2 separate regions of the Homo sapiens genome follow, and region 1 is linked to region 2. The links are contacts of gene promoters, found by promoter capture Hi-C in blood cells and fetal thymus (Javierre and others, 2016). All regions are on one chromosome and are shown on one strand. The core of a region is centred on a gene start or on the middle of the fragment in contact, and the rest is flanking DNA. Distances in the headings are between cores, read along the strand shown. Region 1 overlaps KIAA0319L (KIAA0319 like). Region 2 holds the start of TRAPPC3 (trafficking protein particle complex subunit 3).

Evidence for each region. Contacts are between HindIII fragments. The CHiCAGO score rates a contact against its expected background, and 5 or more counts as called.
Region 1: a fragment that was not itself captured here is called in contact with the fragment with the promoter of TRAPPC3 in region 2 in 1 of 17 cell types (neutrophils); the score reaches 5.1 in neutrophils.

What each region holds. Positions count from the first base shown.
Region 1 is chr1:35,545,391-35,550,817 of GRCh38, forward strand. All of the region lies in intron 2 of KIAA0319L (KIAA0319 like), which reads right to left. Among named protein-coding and RNA genes, the nearest start is that of KIAA0319L, 9.3 kb to the right of the region's middle. The HindIII fragment of the contact is 1,960 bases long and covers 1,365-3,324 here.
Region 2 is chr1:36,148,039-36,153,467 of GRCh38, forward strand. It overlaps TRAPPC3 (trafficking protein particle complex subunit 3), which reads right to left and starts at 1,448. Exons shown (of 5, transcript NM_014408.5): 1 at 1,299-1,448. The coding sequence starts at 1,340. RefSeq lists enhancers at 1,118-1,778, 1,132-1,211, 1,342-2,001. The HindIII fragment of the contact is 15,390 bases long and covers 1-5,429 here.

The DNA of each region.
Region 1 (5,427 bases), core at 1,095-3,594, 600 kb before region 2:
CACACAGAGTATAACATGGTATAATCATAGAGAGATGCATAGATATTATGAGAACATTAGAGAAGTCCACACCAGGGGTCTCAGGGAAAGCACGAGAAAGGAGCTTATGTTTATCTGAATTGGAATACATCAGGCAGAATGGTAATGCCATATGCAGAGAAATGGAGCCCTCTACACAGAAATGTGAGATGAACTGTGACATGCATGTGAAGGACAGAAAAGAATAGAGAATGACTTAGGCAGCCAGGTGCGGTGGCTCACACCTGTAACCCCAGCACTTTGGGAGGGTGAGGCAGGTGTTTGAGACCAGCCTGGCCAACATGGTGAAACCCTGTCTGTAGTAAAAATACAAAAATTAGCCGGGCGTGGTGGCAGGTGCCTGTAATCCCAGCTACTCAGGAGGCTGAGGCAGGAGAATCGCTTGAACCTGAGAGGCAGAGGTTGCAGTGAGCCAAGATTGTGCCACTGTACTCCAGCCTGGGCGACAGAGCAAGACTGTGCCTTGAAAAAAAAGAAAAATGACTCAGGGATTTCAACCTCAGAATATGGCTAGAGGTGGTCTTTTCATGGTTATAGGGAATAAAGGAAAAGAAAGGGGGTAAAAGATCACAGGTTCAGTTTTGCGATACTAAGTTAGAGGTAGCCATGAGACATCTTGGCTGGAGATGTGCAGCGTACAGATGGCTAAGTGGTCTGGAGCTCAGGAATAGCTATAAATTTGGAAGTAGTGAGCACACAGGTTACAAGTGAGGAATGAATGAGACTGCCCAGGGAGACCACAAGTGGGACAAAAAAGGGTGAAACAGAACCCTGACAAACAAAAGATGTAAGGGAGAGAAGGGAGTGGGGGAAAAATAATAAGAAAGTGCTGTGCATTGGCTAAGAGGAGGACAAAACAAAGCATGGTGTAACTTAAGGCAAGTGAGGAAACGGTCTCAAGAAGGTAATCAAAGGTGTCAAATGCAGTAGAGATGTTAAGTAAGGTAAGAAATAAAGGCGTCCAACTAGGAAGGTCAGTAGTTACCCTGGCAAAAGCCAAGGTTTGGGCAGAAGCCAGACCTTACTGAACTCAGAAGAGGATGAAGGTGGGAGAATGGAAATAGCAAATGTGGTCTACTCTTTCAGAAAGCTTCACTGACTGCAAAGATCAAGTCAGGGAACTGGACAGCAATCTTTCACGAAGAACAGTGCCTGCCTCAATAAATATTTATTGACTGAGTAAGTAATTTTAAAAATGAACAAAAGAATGAAGAAATCTATACCCATCCAGTTGTTTCTCTAGTCCTTGTCTCCAACTGTGTCAGTTTGTCCATCTATAAACTGAATACGTATTAGGCCCAAGCCAAGTTCCATTTCCTCCATGAAGCTTTCCTTGATTTTTCTAACCTTCAACAACCTTCTCTACTATAATAGAAAAGATGAATAATAACAAGTGTTGGCAAGGATGTAGAGAAACTGGAACCCCCATACTTTACTGGTGGAAATGTAAAATGGTGCAGCTGCTATAGAAAACAGTTTCTCAAAAAAGTTAAACCAAGAGTTACCATAACATCCAGCAATTCCACTCCTATATATAAATATATATATAAAAGTGAAATTTTATATATAAATTTATATACATATATAAATAATGGAATTGCTGGATCATATATATATTATTACATGTTTATATACAAATAGTGGAATTGCTGGATCATATATATTATTACATATATTATATATATGATCCAGCAATTCCACTATTTATATATGTAATATATACATATATAATTACATATAATTATACATATTATACGTGATTATATATAATCCAGCAATTCCATTTATATATAAATTTATTTCATATATATTTATATATAAATTGCATATATATTTTACTATAGTGCAATTGGATATATACATATAGTGGAGTGGAATTACATATATACATTATATATATATATACACATGATCCAGCAATTGTACTATTTATATGTAAATACATGTATTTATATATACAGATATCCAAGAAAATTAAAAACATATGTTCACACAAAAATGTATACATAAATGTTAAGAGCAACATTGTTCATAATAGCCAAAAAGTAGAAACAACCCAATGTCCATCAACTGATGAATGGATAAACAAAAGTGGCATATCCATAAAGCAGAATATTATTCAGCCATAAAAAGAAATGAAGTACTGATACCTGCTAGGATATGGATGAACCTTGGAAATATTATGCTAAATGAAATAAGCCAGACACAAAAGGCCACGTATTGTACGATTCCATTTATGAAATGTCCAGAATAGGCAAATCCATAGAGTCAGAAAGCAGATTTGTGGTTTCTAGTAGCTGGGGGAGGAGAGGATAGGGAGTGACTGCTAATGGGTACAGGGCTTCTTCTAGGGGTGAGAAAAAAGTTCTGGAATTAGATAGTGGTATATCTCAATTTTAAAAAACTTCTTGGCCAGGTGCAGTGGCTCACGCCTGTAATCCCAGCACTCTGGGAGGCCAAGGTGGGTAGAATGCTCAAGGCCAGGAGTTTGACACCAGACTGGCAACATGGCAAAACCCCATCTCTACTAAAAATACAAAAATTAGCCAGGTGTGGTGGTGCACCCCTGTAGTCCCAGCTACTCGGGAGGCTGGGGTAGGAGAATTGCTTGAACCCTGGAGGCTGAGGTTGCAGTGAGCTGAGATCGTACCACTGCAGTCCAGCCTGGGCAACAGAGTGTGACTCTGTCTCGAAAAAAAAAAAAAACTTCCTCTAATCTCTCTACTACAGAACATCTAAATTCTACCCATCTCTTTAGGACTACCTCTACTTGTTTGTATTGAATGAAATTACTGAGAGGTTCCTTGAAGACAGAGTCTCATCAACTTTCTCCTGGACTATTTCATTAACATGCTAATGGATACCCTAACCTCTAACCCTGACCTCCCTCCCTTTTCCATCCATCTCCATCTCCACAATTACCACTTTTCTATACTCCTGCAAAAATTATTCAGAAATTTACCAGTATTATAGTATATTTAATACAGTATTAATAGTTTTATATTTAATACTAGCATTAAAGTATTATAGTGTTTGCCTTAAGAGGTGCACAAGACAAATCCCTCGGGCATGAAAAGAAAATATTAGAACTCTTCATATTTGCTTCTGTCAATCCCTTTAACATTTTGTTTTTGGCATCTCTTACACATATATAAGACATTAGTATAAAATTACGTGTTATAATGTATAAATTTATATACAGGGGTACATTCTCAATTTTTCAATGGATTAAAGTGCATCATGAAAAAAATTTATAGACCATCTACCTAAAAAGTTTAAAATTGAAGCTTCTTAGCATAGCATACAAGATCCTTTGTGACCTAGCCACCACCTACCTCTTCTGGAGCTGCCATACCAGCTTTGCTCTTTATATTCCAGTAGTGCTAAACTGCTTGTGGAGTTTCTTCTATATACCAGGCTGTTTCACTTTTGTGCCTTTGCTCTTGCATTCCCATTGCATGGGAATACCCTTTGAATCCTTCAAATTCAACCTTCACAACTCTGTTCAGGCATCAGCTTCTCTAGAAGATGCTTCTCTAGAAAGAACTCCTTAGAGCACCCTCTTTGCCTCCAAGCTAAATGCTTCTCCTACGGTTCCAGTAGCACTCTGTGCGTTGCATCTTTTTTTTTTTTTTTTAAGAGACAGGGTCTCCCTCTGTCACCCACACTGGAGTACAGCGACATGATCACAGTTCACTGCAGTCTTGAACTCCCGGGCTCAGGTGATCCTCTCATCTCAGCCTTTCGAGTAGCTAGGACTACAGGTGCCCACCACCACCAGCTAATTTTTTTTATTTTTGTAGAGATGAGGTTTCACTATGTTGTCCAGGCTGGTCTTGAACTCCTGGCCTCGGGTGATCCTCCTGCCTCAGCCTCTCAAAGTGCTAGGATAAGCCAATGCACCTGGCCTCTACCTTTTCACTTGCTACTGGTAGTTATTCCAGAGAAAGGATTGTATTGTACTAATCTTTATTATCCTGGTGCCTAGTCTAGAAGCAGACTCCTAGTAAGTTCTCAAAAAATGGTTCTGAATTGAATAATTTATCTCTGTACTCAAAATACGTATTAACTAACTGTATAATCTCCTTCCCAGAGGTAGGGAAATGTCAGTACAAGTTTTCATAGCCAACTGTTAGCTCTGGGCCTAAGGACATTGGCTTCAGTGATTCTCCCTGTTTCAGATTTCTAGGGCCAATTAGGTCCTTGCATCCCCCACAAACATGCACACATAACTCTTCAGATGTATACATTCTTTCTTTGTATGTGTTAATATATTTGTTAAGATTTTAGTCAATCTTGTTGGTCTCAAAAGCATTGGTCTCCTTAAAGTGCCTTTCCATATCTCTGCTCTGATTTTGTTGTTTTTAAAGCTTAATTCTCAAAGAACAATTCCCTTATTGGTAATTTATTAATTTATTCAGTCAACAAATATTTTATGCATCTACTATGTGCCTTGGTACCCGCTAAGAATATCTAGCATAACTAAAAGAGGCAACATGTCTGCTCTCAAGAAGCTGACAATCTATTGTAGGAATTTCCAAAACTCCTGGGATCACTTCCTATTTGTCTCCAGATGAGAATCCCCAGGTCCAAAACACTATTTTTCAAGCCACTTAACAATAAAATTAAACAGAAAAATAGCCATTCCATGGCACACAAGGAAAACACAGACAGACCATCTTTTATCAAATTGTAATCAATGCTTTCTAACAGTAGGGCTTCAGTACTGAACCCAAAAGTGGAAATAAAAAAGCTCACCATGTCTAAGTCAACAGCTGCCTGGGGCTCTACCAAAGATGGAGCAAACTCCTAAGTGGTAAGCGGGAGTGGAGGATAACTGCAGAGCTGCCTTAATTTGGTTAGTTTTTCAGAAATAATCCATGAGCTAAATAACAGCAGGAATCAAGAATGTATTTTATCGGAAAAAAATGTAAACACTCAGGTAAACACTGAGTAAACTCATGAGTAGAGAAATACTGACTCAGGCTCCCACCAATAGGTTTTTGCTGTTATTATTTTGTTGTTGCTTTTTCAAGTAGGTTGTTTTCCCCCTTATATAAAAAGGAATACAAGTATACCAAAGAAAGGCCTGGAAAACACAGAAAAATATGAAGAGATAATAATTCCTCTAGTCAAAAAAATACATAAATATTTAGTTGTACATCTTGTTTCAGACTGTTTTCTATTACATAATTTTTTCTTCTTTTCACAAAATTGACAGCATATTGAATATGTAGTTGCATAACTTGATTTTATCATTTAATATTAGGAGCATTTTCCCGTGTACTTTTTTTTTAAATTATTAAACATTTTTTAATTCTAAAGAGACAGGGCCTCACTATGTTGCCGGCTGGTCTCAAACCCCTAGGCTCAAGCAATCCTCCCATC
Region 2 (5,429 bases), core at 198-2,697:
TTTAATATTAGGTAGACATTACTATCCCCATTTTATAGATAAAGAAATTGAAGATCAATCAAGTAAGTCAGAATTCCAACCAAGGTCCATGTGTTTCCCCTTACCTGACATTGTTTCCTAACAAAATATTCTCGTCTTTTGGCCGGGTGTGGTGGCTCACCCCTGTAATCCCAGCACTTTGGGAGCCTGAACAGGCAGATCACTTAAGGCCACGAGTTCGAGACCAGGCTGGCCAACATGGTGAAACCCCGTCTCTACTAAAAATACAAAAATTGGTCAGGCGCAGTGGCTCACGCCTGTAATCCCAGCACTTTGGGAGGCCGAGACAGGCGGATCACCTGAGGTCAGGAGTTCGAGACCAGCCTGGCCAACATGGTGAAACCCCATCTCTACTAAAAATACAAAAATCAGCCAGGCGTGGTGGTGGACACCTGTAATCCCAGCTACTCGGGAGGCTGAGGCAGAAGAACTGCTTGAACCTGGGAGGCAGAGGTTGCAGTGAGCCAAGTTAGTGCCACTGCACTCCACCCCGGGTGACAGAGATTTCGTCTGGGGGCGGGGGGAGGGAGGGAAGAACGAAAGAAAAATGACCTAAGTCTGCAGCCCCAGCCCCTAGTCCAACTTTATAGGACCATATGGTGTCCAAACTATTCCCTGGGAAAGAAGGGAGCCACCCACTCCATTAGAGGGGCACCACTCACTGCTTACTCTGGCCCATCTCTTATTCCATTGAATAAAACGTTCCTTTCTGGCACGACCAGTATCTGAACATCTCTCACAATACCCACGCCACAGTACGAGACACTGTAGCCTAAGAGTAAAGCCTAACAGTCAGCTCCTAGCATTAGCTTTGGAGTTAAACACGGGTCCAAATCCTAACTTCCCAGGTGTAAATATGGGCAAATTACGTAAGCTCTCCAAGCTGTAAAACGGCAATGTTATCCATCTGATAGGGGCTACTCTGCAGATTAACTGAGATGCTGTAACGTGCGTGGCCCGGTGCCCAACACATAGTAAGAGAGAAGTTAAGTGGCAGTTATTGGTATTTATTACCGTCGTTGTTGTTGGCTTAGCACAGAGCTGCACTCAGGCCTTGGGGGCGGGGTCTCCTCCGGGGAACTTCTCCGACGGTCCCCTCACCTGCCTGGAACGCCCCCGGAGTGACCCAGCAAGAGGCTTCCCCTTGCCAGAGCTCACAGGAAGGCCCTTTTCCAAACGCACCTCGCGCTCGGCGCCGGGCCCCTTCCCTGTACGCCTCAATTTCGCCCCGCCCGCCGAGGTCACGCGCTCCAAGTTACCATTTTCTTGCTCTCGGTGCCACGGTTCGCCTGCCTCGACATGGTGCCGGCCGCCCCGCCCCACTCGCCTAGCCACGGGTTAGCTCGGCGACCCCTGCAGACGCCGGAGCCTAAGCCGCTGCCCCTCAGCCCACAAGACCGACCGGCACTGACTCACTGCGCCTGCGCGGCCTCCCGCGGGGCACCACGGGACTAGTGGTCCGGCCGACGTGGGCAACTCCCGCCCAACAAACGTCAGACTACAACACCCAACAGCCCCTTTGGCAGCACCGCCTCTTAACACAGTCAACTACAACTCCCGGAGTGCTCCGCGCGCGCCTGCCTGGTAGAGCCCAGCTTGCGCTGGGCAGCATCCTGGCCGCTGGGTGGCGTCCGCAGCCTTCGGTAATCCTGGGTCACACACACGCTTCCTCCTTGTCCCCCTCCCCCCGCGCCCGGCTCAGAGATGATGCTCCACAAATTCCTCTCTCGCCGGGGTTGGTCTTGGAAAGTCCCTCTTTCGAGCTAGCGTCTTCCGCTGTTGCGATTCAGCTCCAGAAGCTCCCAAGATGTCCCAGAAAACTAGCAATGACTCACACAGAATTGGCTTCTTCATTAGAAAAATATTTAATGACCTACTATGTGCCAAGCATTTCGCTAGTGTCTTTCTCTTCAGACTGCCAAACCCCAAATGATGCCAGCACCTGCCTTCTACCACCTGTGGCCTCGTGATGGAATATCCAGTCTTTTAGGTAAAGTTCAAGTCACTTTCTCCCCCTCCCTCCCCCTAGAACAGCTACACTGCCTGGTTCCCAGAAAACAAAGATCACTAACTGTCGTGGCCGTCAGTTCTGAGTTCTAATCCCAGCTTTGCCATTTTAGGCAAGTTGCTAAATCTCTCTCAGTTGTTGTAAAGACTGGTGAGCCACGCATGCCCAGCACTTGGGCGCATAAAAGGCATAAAAGAAACGTGTATTCCCTTCCAGCCACCCTCCAAAAACAAGCCAACAAACAGGCACCAGAAACACGAAGGGAATGTGCTGGCTGAACTCTCACCCATCACCAAGGGGAAGTCTATAGTCCCTGACCACAGCTCTTTGGTTTCAGCTCCCGCGGTCTCTCAGCTGGTCAACTCTGAGGAAGCTGGGCTGGGGGGTCCCTGAGCACTCTCTGTTCACTTAGGCCTGGTAGCCTGACTGTAGCAGCTGCATTCTGGCCCCTAGCCCTCACCATGACAACCAGCCTGTCCAGACACGAGCCAGCCAGGCTAGGGAGGGCTGGGGGGCCGCTGAGGCTGCAAGCTGGTGCCCAGGGTTCCCCCAGTCCCTCCCTCAGGGTGCAGGACCAATCATTATTATACCCTTTTCCCCAGACATTCTGTTTCCTCCCTAGAGGCAGTGACCCCTCACTCTCCATCCTGTGTAATGCCACAGGGGAGGGAGCCAAGGGCCGAGGGCTCTGGGAAGGAACTTGAGGGTTGGTTGGGGTTGGGGGAGGAAAGCAGGAGTCAACTAGCCCCCAAGGGCCAGCTCAGCTAGACAAGAGCCCTCTGCATTCCCAGGACAGAGGACAGCTGAGGTGAAAGCTGCAGTTGGCCAGCCGGTCTGTCGGTCTGGGCTCCTCCCTGCCGGCTGCCCTTGGCTGCCCACAGAAACCTGAGTCACACTCACAGCCAGCCACCCAACCCCACCCTGCCTGCTGTCAAGCAGGGCGGTTCTAGAGAGAGTGGAGGTGGAGCCTTTCCCTGCCTGTCCAACAGCCTCCGAGATTTTGCCTCTCTCTGCCTGGGATTCCTCCTCTTGGCGTCTCTTTCTCTTTGGGACTTGCAGTGTCATTAGTCCTGAATGAACAGTGGGGGTGGGGGCCATCTCAGGTTGATCTATATGATCCCCTCCTCACTCAGATAGGTTCTTAAAGGCTTCTTAGGCCGAGCACAGTGGCTCATGCCAGTAACCCCAGCACATTGGGAGGCAAAGGCAGGAGGAACACTTTAGCCCAGGAGTTTGAGACCAGCCTGGGCAACATAGTGAGACCCCCATCTCCATAAAAAATAATTTTTAAAAAGGCTGTTCTGTTATGAAATAGCCACTCTTTTGTTTATTTACTTTTTTAACAAAAATAAATAAAAATTAAAAAAAACAACAACCAGCTGAGCATTGTGGTGTGCACCTCTGGCCCCCAGCTACTAGGAAGGTTAAGGTGGGAAGATTGCTTGAGCCCAGGAGGTGGAGGGTGCAGTGAGCCATGTTTGCACTACTGCACTCCAGCCTGGGTGACAGAACTGAAACCTTGTCTCAAAACAACAACAACAACAACAAAACTCCTTAGACAGCTGTTCCAAGGATTCTCAGTATGGTTTCCATCATTCCCAAATCCCAACCCTCCTTACCACTTCTAGGTGCCAGGACATTTAGGAACACCAGATGTCCCCTCACCACCCTCTTCTCCTTCTCCCTAGAAAACAACACAAGGGATAGCTTTCTGTTCCTATCAGGGGCTCTAGACAAAGACTCTCTCCTGGGAACCCAAAGGGTTGAATCTATTTAGTCCTGTATCTGAGTTCCCCGCCTCCCCAAGAGCTGGACAGGGAGGGGCAGCTGGCATCACCAGCCACAGGGAGTGGGCCCTGGGAGCTGAGGCCCCCCAGGAAGGCCGGTGCTGGTTAGAGACCCCGTGTTGCTGCAGTCCCTTGAGGCTGGGGCAGTGCCTTGAGGCTGGGGTGGGAGTGAGAATGGGTGCCTATTCTCTCCTCTGCCCCCACTGTGAGGCCCCTCCCACTTCCTGCAGTAATTTGTGGGTGTGGGAGCAGCATCCAAGGCCTCAGTTCTGAGAGATTTGTTAATTTTCTTAACTCTCCCAGTGATTTCCTTCATCTCTCCATCAGGTTCATCCTGGATCCTGCCCCACCAAACTAGGAGGCTGAAAATATCCTTGCCTTTCTTCCCCTCGGGGAAACAGGATGGAAACATATTTCTTTTTCTTTTTTTTTTTTTTTTGTCCTCCTTTTTTTTTGAGAGAGTCTTGCTCCGTCGCCCAGGCTGGAGTGCAGTGGTGTGATCTTGGCTCACTGCAACCTCCGCCTCCCAGGTTCAAGTGATTCTCCTGCCTCAGCCTCCTGAGTAGCTGGGACTACAGGCATGTGCCACCATGCCTGGCTAATGTTTTTGTATTTTTAGTAGAGACTGGGTTTCGACATGTTGGCCAGGTTGGTCGTGAACTCCTGACCTCAGGTCATCTGCCCACCTCGGCCTCCCAGAGTGCTGGGATTACAGGTGTGAGCCACCCCCGCCTGGCCAAAAATTTCTTTAGTATACTCTTTTTTTAAAGATTTTTTTTACTATCTTTTCTCTCTTTTTTTAGACAGGGTCTCTGTCGTCCAGGCTGGAGTGCAGTGGCACAAACATGGCTCACTGCAGCCTTGACCTTCCGGGCTCAAGTGATCCTCCCACCTCAGCCTCCTGAGTAGTTCAGACTACAGGCACGCACCACGATGCCTGGCTAATTTTTTGTATTTTTGGTGGAGACAGGGTTTCGCCATGTTGCCCAGGCTGGTCTCGAACTCCTGAGCTCAAGTGATCTACCTGCACTGGCCTCCCAAAGTGCTGGGATTAGGCGTGAGCCACTGTGCCTGGCCAGGATAGGAACATATTTCTGATCCCCATTCTGTGGGCTTCCCCCAGCCCCAGCCCAACCTTGCGGTGAAAGGAACAGCTCACTCATGCCTGTTTCCGTGCAGAAGGAGGAGACTGCCCTGGGCCACGATCTCCTACTGCCCTGGTCCAGAGGTCCCTGTCGCTCGCCAAAGACTGCAGGGAATGCTGTTGGGACTTCAGCCTCTTATGTTAGGGTTTCAGCAAGTACCCTACTTGCTCCTTCTCTGGGATGTCTATTTGTGGTGCCCCATGCAGCGTTACCTAGCCCCAAACTCAGAGAGAGACACTCTTAACCCTCTTGGTTGCTGGGGCCTGGAATCTGCCAGGGATCCTGGCCAGTGAGGAGGAGAATGGAGAGGAGTCCACTTCCTCTGTCCACCAACTGCCTCAATCACGGAACACGGGTGCTCTCCAGGCCCCTCCTCAGCCATCCTCCGCACACTCCCTGTGGACTCATCAGCAGCACAGGAAACCTTCAGGTCTGGCCAGGAGAACTGTC